Regions from separate parts of the Homo sapiens genome. Here all the other regions are linked to region 2. The links are contacts of gene promoters, found by promoter capture Hi-C in blood cells and fetal thymus (Javierre and others, 2016). All regions are on one chromosome and are shown on one strand. Each heading gives the region's core, a stretch centred on a gene start or on the middle of the fragment in contact. The rest is flanking DNA. Distances are from core to core; before and after follow the strand shown.

Evidence for each region. Contacts are between HindIII fragments. The CHiCAGO score rates a contact against its expected background, and 5 or more counts as called.
Region 1: a contact is called between a fragment that was not itself captured here and the fragment with the promoter of GRHPR in region 2, in 1 of 17 cell types (total B cells). The highest score is 5.9, in total B cells.
Region 3: a fragment that was not itself captured here is called in contact with the fragment with the promoter of GRHPR in region 2 in 2 of 17 cell types (naive B cells and endothelial precursors); the score reaches 6.8 in naive B cells.

What each region holds. Positions count from the first base shown.
Region 1 is chr9:36,888,754-36,892,346 of GRCh38, reverse strand. The region is part of intron 7 of PAX5 (paired box 5); the gene reads left to right. Among named protein-coding and RNA genes, the nearest start is that of MIR4476, 3.0 kb to the left of the region's middle. The HindIII fragment of the contact is 4,685 bases long and covers 1-3,593 here.
Region 2 is chr9:37,421,367-37,424,841 of GRCh38, reverse strand. It overlaps GRHPR (glyoxylate and hydroxypyruvate reductase), which reads right to left and starts at 2,146. Exons shown (of 9, transcript NM_012203.2): 1 at 2,009-2,146. The coding sequence starts at 2,091. RefSeq lists enhancers at 1,549-2,174, 2,175-2,800 and a silencer at 2,185-2,334. The HindIII fragment of the contact is 7,938 bases long and covers 1-3,475 here.
Region 3 is chr9:36,866,235-36,869,982 of GRCh38, reverse strand. All of the region lies in intron 8 of PAX5 (paired box 5), which reads left to right. Among named protein-coding and RNA genes, the nearest start is that of MIR4540, 3.8 kb to the right of the region's middle. RefSeq lists an enhancer at 1,352-2,043. The HindIII fragment of the contact is 2,531 bases long and covers 526-3,056 here.

The sequences.
Region 1 (3,593 bases), core at 960-3,459, 530 kb after region 2:
CTTTGCATCCTTTAGAGCACTCAGGACAGTGTTTAGAACTTAGTGTCAGATAATGCATGAATGAGTGAACGAATGAATAAAGTCACGAGCTAGCCCACTTTGCCCTGGGAATCCTTGCGCCATAAATACTGCCTTCCTCCTGTCTCTGGAGCAGTCCCCGTCGTGGCAGGGAGGCCCAGAGCCATCAGTGTGGTAGAGCTGCTTTGCTGCTTTCCTAATTAGAACCCTGACTTTGTCATTTCATTAAGTTGGCTCAACAGTTGCTGGTTCCGGGGGCTGGTGTCATACATGTGCATGGAAATATAGACTGAGTCCCAGTGTCTGCTCTAAAATGCCAGGCAGGTGAAATTCAAACACGCTTCCAAAATTGAAACACAGTATTGGAGTGTGATAGTTCCAGAGATTCCAGGGAGGTGGGTGCGGTCAATTCAGAGGAAGGAGTGAGGAGGGTTAGCAAAGTAAACAGCTCCCTGGTTAGTGGATTCTGAGATTGTCTTCCTGGCTCTACAAATCCAGATTAGATCTTTAGCCAGGGCAATTAGAAGGAGGTCAGTCAGAATTAGTTAAAAGTGGGGATTAGGTAATTTTGGGAAAAGAAATTGAGGGTTACTATTCCTAAGTCAATAACACCACCCAAACTAATGGCTAATAAACCTGTCATTAGGAGCCTGCCAGATCCGCTTTAATGACTGGATACAGCTCATCTGCAATTAGCACATCCATTGTCTGCAGGCAGAGGTAGGCTGTTACATCACCATTCCCACTGCCCTTCCCCTCCGGGTGAAATATTCCCCCTCTGCATCTACCGTCAGCAGCATACCCTCCACTAGTGGCAGGTCTGGACAAAGGGAGACTCCAGAGCAACCCTGTTCAAACTGCCACACATTTCCAACACCAGCTGGAACGAATAAGCCTGGCGGCGTATGCACTACGTGTACACACGCACCGACGTGTGCGTAGCAGGATGAATCCCCGCCCCACGTCCTGGGTATTGAGCTGTTTCTCCCCCTCTCCCTAAGGTGGCACTTGTTCACTGTCATCTGCTTCGGGGTTTGTTGAAAATCTTCAGCTCATGTCATTGTCTTTGGCATTGTTCACCTTTTCCTACAACAGGTGTCAAAATATACTTCAGAAAAAGTTAAAAGCATAACTCTTGTACAAATATAAAGTGAACAATATGTAAAATGAAGTTTTTTTTTGTTTTTTTGGAGATGAAGTTGCGCTCTGTCGCCCAGGCCGGAGTGCAGTGGCGCAATCTCGGCTCACTGCAACCTCCACCTCCCAAGTTCAAGCAATTCTCCTGCCTCAGCCTCCTGAGTAGCTGGGACTACAGGCGTGCACCACCATGCCCAGCTAATTTTTGTATTCTTAGTAGAGATGGGGTTTCGCCATGTTGTACAGGCTGGTCTCAAACTCCTGACCTCAGGTGATCCTCCTGCCTTGGCCTCCCAAAGTTCTGGGATTACAAGTGTGAGCCACTGCGCCCAGCCTAAAATGAAGATTTTATTTCATTTGCAGACTGACCACTCCCATCTCCTTCTGTAAGTGCCTTATGCTTATCCTCCTTTCACTCGGGTTTAATTCAGGGGCTCCAGGAAGTCTGATGCTGTGGGCAAGAGTGTGGAGGCCACAGCGAGCAGGCACTGCCATATCTGTCTCTGTAGGAATTGATACCCACCTTCTTTTCCATCAACATGGGGGTGAAATGATGCCACCGACTTATGGAATGTTACTGTGGAAAAAACCCTCAGAGGCCATCTGTTCCCACTGCTTGAGTATTCAGATAACCAAGGCCCAGAAACCAAGGCCCAGAGAGGGGGTGAAGTTTACCTGAGGTCACACAGCAATCCGTGTTGCCTGGAGTGTGCAGGCTTCCTGGACCTTAGGAGTCCCCAGCAGACAGAGTTGCCAGTTCGCAAAGAGCTCTGCCTTTCCCAGCCAGTTCCCCCATATTCCCTTATAGTTTGGGCCTTGTATGCTAAGATCTCCCTCCTCTGGGCAGGACCTCTTGCCCCAGGGCTGTCAAGGCTGGCAGACCCTCTCGGGCCATCAAGCCATCACCAGGATCCCGCCCCCACCTCTCATCTTGTTCACAATAATTAATGGCTGCTCGATGGCTTGCTTCCTTCTTTCTCTCACTCACACACACAGTCAGGTAGATGGAGGGGGAGTTTGGTTGGTGCCCTATGGTATTCAAAGTGAAGGGTTTTCACACTGTCAGGGTAATGAATTCTGCAAGGGTTTGAAGCGAAGGACTGGGAGGATTTCTGTGTCATGTGTCTGGGAGTGACAACCCCCAGTGGTTAATTACTGCCACACGATGAGAACCGAGCTGGTAGCAAAATGAGATAAGTTCATTATGAGCTAAATTTGAAGTTAATTGGATTCACATTCCCCCCCCCCCCGTTAGTGTACATAGAGAGAGCCTACCTAGAAATGGGCTCTATGAAAAAGAAAAAGAAAAAGTTGCGTCTAAGCAAAAACTGATCAATCAGGCCTGGTTATTTTGTGGAGTTCGTGATGAAGGGCTTTCTGAGACGCTGATGCGAAGAGAAGCATAGTTCCTTCAGAAGAGCAGACCCAATGTCATATGATTAATTTCATCTTGGCAAACGTTTTCTGAGTACCTACTGTGTGCCAGGCCAGTGCAAGGGAAACAGGAATGAGAGCAGTTCTTGATCTCTGGGGACTTCCAGTCTAGAAGCAGGAGAAGGATGGGTGCCCAATGCTGGGGGATTGTGAAGGCATCTGGTGCCAGAACGCCTCCGTTTGGATAAGGGTCCATTTGTGACTAGCTGTGGGAACTTGGGCAGGTGCCTAATCTCGCTGTGTTTTAGTTTCCACATCTGTAAAATGGGGATAACAATAGGGTTCACCTTACAGAGTTTTTGAGGATGAAATGAATCTATATTTACAAAGCAGAGTGAATATTGTTTAGAACACTGCTTAGTGTAGAGCCTTGTCTGGCATACAGTAAATTCTACAAAAATATTAGCTGTTATTGTTATTATTATCAGCCGTGCAACCTTGGGTACATCAACTGCTTGGGAGCCTTCATTTCCTCATTTGTAAAATGGGGATTATAACCGCAACCTTATGGGGTTCTTGTATTGAATGAGGTTAAGACATGGAAGTGCCTGGCCAGGGCCTGGCTTGTGGGAACTCCAAGGAGGCTGGAGCTCTGTGGGTTGACCAGTCACCAAGGGGGCCCAGGTTCAGGGTAAAGGATCATAGACCTCACTTCTCCATGAGAAGAGTAACAAAGAATTTGCAGACATGTTTTAATCCTGTTACAGAGAGTACCATTGTTACACTCCCAATAAATACCCTCTTTTTCCAATTATCAAAGAAAGCCCCATGCTCAGATCGTTGTATTACCTGCCAGAGGTCACACAGCGAGTAAGTGGTGGAGCTAAGATTTGAAGCCAGGCCTGTGTGACTCCAAACTCCACCCCTCCCTGCAAGGCTCAGGGGCCTAGATTTGGCTCTGGAGGCAACGGGGGAGCCTGTGTGAAAGGGAGAGCAGATGTGGGTGGCTTCATGCCCCCTCAAGCCTGCCGCCTGCAGAGCTGCCTGGAGGTCTCCTCCCTGGG
Region 2 (3,475 bases), core at 897-3,396:
CGGGGAAAGGGAGGCCCTCAGGAGAAGCAGGAGCCGCACACCTGTCCCCGCCCCTCCCAGCTGGGAATCCTGGCCTCTGATGGCCCTGGCCTCAGGCTGCCCGGGGCTGGCTGAGGGGAGGCAGGGTCAGGCAGGGGTGGTCTCAGAACTGTCCCGAGACAGCAGGTGACAGGTGAAGGGCTGAGGGGCCCCCCAGCAGAGCCTAAGCTGCAAGGGGGAAGGCATGGGGACAGCTCTCAGGTCAGCACAGAGAAGAGCTTTCCCACATTCACAGGGGCTGGGCGGCCAAGCAGGCGGCCAACTGCAGGGAAGGCCCGTGGGGGGCAGGGTGTGCCTCAGGTGGGGGGCCTGGATTCAATGGCCTGTTGCATCTCTTCCTGTCCGTGGAGTCCATGAAATAGAAAACTCTCATAGTTGGACTGGGCCAGGAAAGATAAGGTCAAGGCCACCCAACGCTTCCACGGCAGCTCACAGCAACCAGATATTTGTCCCAGTGATGCACGGTGCCTCCTGGCCCTTGCCATGGAATTCAGTACAGTCAGCACGTGTGGAGCCTCTATGTGGCAGGACACAGGATAGCTACTTGCACCTCCTGACTGAGCCCAGGGCACTGACCACCTTTCATCCACCTCCCCATGAGCAGGGTACAGCGTGAGCTACTGTTACCATGGGCGCGGTTGCTGCCTTCCACCTTCTCCTGCTCAGTACAAAGTGGGTCCTTGGCAAAGGTTTTGTTGCAGTGAACAAAATTTGAAAATCTCATATGCCCCTAGAACTGGCTGCTGAGGCTGGATTGCATCCTCTTCCTATCTAACATTGGAAACACAAACCTGATCAAATGCAGTGATCAGACAGCAGTCAGACACTTCTGAGTACAAGCCCCAGCTCCTCCACCTGGGAGCTGCATGGCTTTGGGAAGAAACTTAACCCTAAGTCCAGCCTCCAGTTTTTAATCTGTGCAATGGGAATTATAATACTGACTTCACAGTGCTACCAGGATTAAAAGTTTATGTATATGAAGCACCTGGCAAGGTTGGCCCACAAAAAGGGTTCCATTTAGCAAGGGTGGGCCAGGTGCAGTGGTTCATGCCTGTAATCCCAGCACTTTGGGAGGCTGAGGTGGGAGGATCCCTTCGTACAGGAGTTCAGGACCAGCCTGGGCAACACAGTGAGACCCTCGTCTTTGAAAAAAATAAAAAATTAGCCAGGCATGGTAGTGCATGCCTGTAGTAGTCCCAGCTACTTGGGAGGCTGAGGTGGAAGTATCTCTTGAGTCCAGGAGGTTGAGGCTGCAGTGAGGTATAATGGTGCCACTGCACTCCAGCCTGGATGAGAGTGAGACCCTGTCTTAAAAATTAAAGGGTCCTCAGGCCAGTCATGGTGACTAACACCTGTAATCCCAACACTTTGGGAGGCTGAGGCAAGAGGATTGCTTGAGCCCAGGAATTTGAGACCAGCCTGAGCAACAGAGTGAGACCCCCATCTCTACAAAAAAAAAATCAGAAAATTAGCCGGTAGTGATTGTTTGCGCCTGTAGTCCCAGCTACTCGGGAGGCTCAGGTGGGAGAACTGATTGGGCCCAAGAAGTCGAGGCTGCAGTAAGCCACGATCGATCGAGCCACTGCACTCCAGCCTGTGCAGCAGAGTGAGACTGTCTCAAAAAAAAAAAAAAAAAGATAAGTAAATATAAAGAAGAAGAGTCATCAAAGCCCCCTGCCAAACGTCCAAGGGCCTGGTCAGTGACCGCCATGTCCCTGACCCCACATGTCCTGTGGGAGCGTGGAGAATTAGCCTGGACCTTGCCTCAGGGGCAATCTCCCCTCTCCAAAGCCGGAACTGCAGGTCCCAGCGTCGTCTTAAGAGGAGAACTGGGCCCCAGAGAACTTTCTCCGAGACTCCCCAAAACTCCAAGCCTGCCCCAGCCGGCCACAAGGCCCAAACGCCCCGCCCGGCTCTCCGGTCCCTGGGACCGCCCTGCTCCCTCCTCCACGGCGCGCGAGGCTCTTACTCTGCCGCCCGGGCGAGCGCGACCCTACCCTCGGCGGGTATCCTGCGGGTGACGAACACCTTCATGAGTCGCACCGGTCTCATCCGCAGTGCAGCCGCCGACCCGGACCTGGCAGTACAGAAGCTGGCCCGGGAATGTAGCTGGGCCGGGGCGGGGCCAGGCTGGAGTGGGCGGGAGAGACGTCGCGCGCGGCGTGCGCAGGGGGTGTGGCTTCGCGAGAGGGAGCGCCGGGTTGCGGCTGAGCGGTGACTGTGCGTGCTCGGGGAGTGACAGTAACAGTGACCCTACACAGTGTCCTTGTGTGTGTGTGGGGGGGTGCGCCTCGTGCCACTGGGGAATCAGGGCCCCGGGGGAGAGGGGGCAGTATCCCGTCCAAGGCCTCATGGGAGCCCTGCTTTTTCTACACGCTCAGGGTCCTGTTTCCACAGGCTCAGGCCTTAAGAGACTGAAAGCCCCCACTTTTTCTGTCTCTTGGGTTGGCCCAGGGTAGAAACCCAGGTTCCAGGCTGTGAGGAAGTCCAGGACACACAGAGAGGTCACGTGTAGGTGTTCAGGCCAACAGCACAGCCAGGGGCCCGGCTCACAGCCACCGTCAATGACCAGAGGTATGAGTGAGGAAGCCTTCGGGTGACTCCAGGCCAACTCCCACCTGACTACAGCTAAAACTGCAAGAAAGAGCCTTTAGGAGAATCACTGGCTGAGCCCAGTCAACCCCGGAACCATAAGAGATGATAATGCACTGACTGCTGTTGCTCTAAGCCGTTCAATTTTGGAGTAATTCTTTATGCAGCAATAAATAAGTGATACGCTATGTGTGCGAAAGCCAGAAGCCATAAGAGTACAACTAATTCTCCATTGAAAAATTAACCGTACCATCCTGAATGCATCTGATCTTGGAAACTAAGCCTGGTTAGGGCTTGTATGGGAGACTGCCTGGAAATACCAGGTGCCTGGAAATACCAGGCTTATGTTTATCTTAAAAAAAAAAAATTAACAAAATCATAAGACAACAAACCGGGAAAAATACCATATATTTGCAACTCATTTTATAGACAAGGGGTTGATTTACTTATTGCACAAATAGTTCCTAAGACAAAGATGCCCAGCTTATCTGAATAAGCAAAGGATATCAATGGACAGTTTATAGAAAAGAAAATGGCCTTTAAATGTATGGCTGGGCGCGGTGGCTCATGCCTGTAATCCCAGCACTTTCGGAGGCCGAGGCAGGCGGATCACTTGAGGTCAGAAGTTTGAGACCAGCCTGGCCAACATGGTGAAACTCTGTCTGTACTGAATATACAAACATTAGGTGGGCATGGTGGCACATGCCTGTAATTCCAGCTACTCAGGAGGCTGAGGCAGGAGAATTGCTCATGAGTCCAGGAGATGGAGGTTGCAGTGAGCCGAGATCCCATCACTACACTCCAGCCTGGGTGACAGAGTGAGACTCCATCTAAAACAAAAAAA
Region 3 (3,748 bases), core at 542-3,041, 550 kb after region 2:
TATCCATCCATCCATCCATTTATCCATCCATCCATCCATCCATTTATCCATCCATCCATCCATCCATCCATCCATCCATCCATCCATTTATCCATCCATCCATCCATTTATCCATCCATCCATCCATCCATCCATTTATCCATCCATCCATCTATTCATCCATCCATCCATCTATTTATCCACCCATCCATCCACTATCGCTTCCTTCCTTTCCTTCTCCCTTCCAACATTTATTGAGCATCTACATGTGCCAGGTAGTAGCCTAAGGATACAAGATCAAAACTCATGACCCTTGTCAGGCAAATCTGTGAGGGGCTATGGGGGCCAGTTGTGGTAACAGGCAAGCCCAGGGACTCTGGGAACACAGAGAAGGGGGATGGAGCCTAGACTGGGGATGTCAGACACAGAGGGGCTTGGAATCTCTGTACAGTAGGGCTGGGTGGGAGGCATGTCTGAGGGTGCTTTTGCAGAGAGTTTTGCTAAGATTGAGAAAACACATCAAAGAATAGGGGCACAGCTAAAGCTTTCCAAGACATCCCTGGTGCTGCCCTTAGGGCAGGGGAGGAATCTAGGAAGAGACAATTTTCAGGTTTATTGTTGAGAGAGAAACATATGTTAGCCAGTGGGAGGTGGAGTGAGGAGGGAGAAGATGAGTGTTTCAGGCAGAGCAGGAACAATGAAGACAAAGGTTCTGAGATGTGCTTTGCTCCTGTACTTACTGCAGTCTTTCCGAAACCCAGCTTTAATCTACTGGGGCTGTCAGAGTTTGACTCCCTTCGGCTTGCTGGGATCTGCAGCCCCTGTCTCCAAGACCCTGACAGCTGTCAGTCTTCATCTGGACCAACCGCTGCCTCCAACCCTGAGGGTCACTCCACCTGGGATACTGCTATCCAGAGAACTTCTGGCAGTGTCCGAAGCCCTCAGGGCAGTGAGAGCCAGTGGAGCTTGGCTTCTGCCTTCCAAAAGGAGAGTGTTCTCAAATGGGGCCAAACCACCCATGCCCGTAAGCTCATTCTACCAACAAGCCCCATGCTTCCCCACCCCCAACCTGCATGGTGCTTTAGAGTTATCAAGGGACACACAGCTGTTAGCCCCAGTTGCCATTTGAAAGCATGTTGTGAGGTTGGAGTGAGCATATCCATCTCGGAGGCAGGCTGACTGGGTTCGGGAGGTGGTGTTGCATTGCCAGGGGGATAGCCAGTCAGGGAGCAGCTGGGCTTGGCGCCTGGAACTTAGGGTCTCTGAGCCTCCGGTGTCCATGGAGACTGAGAGGAAATTGAGACTATCTATGGGCTCTGGGGCCAGGGAAGGTGCTCCCTCAGGGACATAGGTGGCCTTCCTAACTCGAGTTCTTTTATGGCCCAGGAAGAGCTCTTCCTGCTGGGATGCTACGGAGCTCACACTTGGAATTCTGGTATATTCCTTTCTCCCTCCCCATCCTCACCTGTCTGTGTTTGACACATGTTCCTAGACCCAAATTTAAGGCTCTCTCTTACAGGAAGCCCCCCACCGCAGTCCCTCATCTCCCCACTGTGTGCACCCCCCGGGCACTGCCCATGGTCTGCCATAGAGACCCCGTGCGCCCGTCTCCTGGCTGCGTCTGAGGTCAGGGCTGCCCGGAATTCCTCTCAGATCCTGGCCCTGCCTGCAGTAGGTGCTGCCTGCAGTAGGTGCTCAGTAGCTGTGGGTGGGATTTATCTGAATACAGCACATGCCCCTCCCCATCTTGCCCGGTCCAGAGTCCAGGGCAAGTTAGGGTCGGACTGTGTAATTAAACAGGGCTTGAGTGCTACTGGCACGCCCCCAGTCCTTCTTCCAATATTTGCTCTGGCTTCTAGCAGGAAGACGCTGAGACAATGGCCCTTGTTACCCTCTGTTTGAGTTATTTATTTTTTTCACTTTTCCCTCCTTCCCCTCTCGGGGGACTTGCCTCTCGCCCTCATCCCTCATGTTTTCCCTTTCACTTGACTGTCACTCTCATTGTCCTCCCGGGGCCGGGAACGCGGGGTGACAGGCAAGGGGAGCCCAACCAGGCTGGGAGGCTGGAAATATAGTCATTAATGGGACCCGCGAAGCCCAGATGTCCTCCCTGAATGCGGGTAATTTGTTTTTAATGAAAAACCATGCGGTGACCCTGAACAAATGAATTTTCTTTATAAGGAGTCTATGTGCAACGGGCACAAATAAAGGGCCCGAAACAGGGAGACTTAAATCCAGGGCTGAAAGAAAGAAAGAAAGGAAGAGAGAAGGAGTGGAAAAGAGAAAGAGAGATAAAAGAGGGAGGAAGGAAAAATGTGAAATGACAACTGTGTTACCATACCCTTCGCCTGAAGAGCAATCCCAGGCCAAAAATGCCTTGGGCATTGTCCTGCCAGGGCAGGGTTTCTGACCGCTGTGGCCATCGTGGGGTCTTGTTCACAATGCTGCTAAGAAGACGAACCCCCACCTGGACGGAGCTTTGCTATTCATGTGCCCCTTTCATGTATAATTGCAGTGGAGCCTCACGGTAGCCCCTTTTACAGAGGTGAAAACTGAGGCTTAAATGGTTTGCTAGCAAGTGGTTCAGTCTAGATGACAAGGGAAGGATTTTGCCAATTTGGAGTGTGACTCTTAGAAACACTGTGTTACAGCCCAGAAATTGCTTTCATTGTGTGATGCAAAAGAAGGGTGTGGCACGAGCAGGTCTAAGCGGGGACACCAGGTGTATACCGAAGAGTCTTGGGTTGAAGCAGTTTCCCATAGCCCCTACAACTTTGCACTGGACCTTTGTGAATGAATAGCTTTTCCATGGGCACTGCGGGTGTGGGGTTCCTGGGTAGAGAAGAACTCCCCAGGAACGAGCCAGACACATTTGGAAAAACAAATGCAAAGAAATTGGAATCTAGCCTTGGGAAGCAGGAGACCAACCAAGGCCCCCCCCCCACCACCCCATCCAGGACATTTTGTAGGCTGTAGAGCTGGCCACTGGGGGCAGCGGCAAAGACATTGATTCAACAGAGGCCCTAGCCGAGGGCCTTGCCTTTGGCTTTGGAGAAATCTGCTCTGCAGGAGAAGCTTTGAAGGCTGTTAGCCCTGTGTAGATTGGGCTGTGCCTGTGTGGAGCGTGTTGTGTGTTCAACGGAGAGGCCGTTGTGTGTTCTGTAGCTGCTTTTCCGTCCATCACTGATGGACAGGGCTGGACTCAACCTTAGAAATCAACCCAGGGCTGTGCAGATGAGGATGAGGAAAGGACTTGTTCAAAGTCATATGGCAAGTCAGAGGGGGAGCCAGGTGGCCCTCTTTCTGCCCTATTGTCCCCACCCCCCTCAGTTCCTCACCGAAGCAATAAAAAAGAAGCTATTTTGTCTCCTGTCCTTGTGCAGAACTGGTATAAAAAGGACGGTTCCTGGATGCCCTGGCTTCTACAGCAACACAAATCGAGACCCCCACCTTCACCCCAACTTTTGTTGTGCTCTTCCTGAATGCAGATCCTCTCCCAGGCCCTGGGACCTGGCCAGCTACAAAAACATCTTCTCTTAAGTCTCAGGCTTCTGTGCCTCAGTGGATCCAGGCAACGGTGGGCTCCCCAGGTCTGGCCGAGGTTGGTCTGAGACCTGCAGGTACGCCGGGGCACAGCTCCCCTACCCAGAGTCAGGTAGCCAGACACAAAGAAATGATTGTTTTCTGTTCCTGGGTTCAGTTTCCCTCTGGAAGCTGTGACCCAGTTAGAAAGTCAGACAGATAGAAAAATCTGACCACGACCCCAACT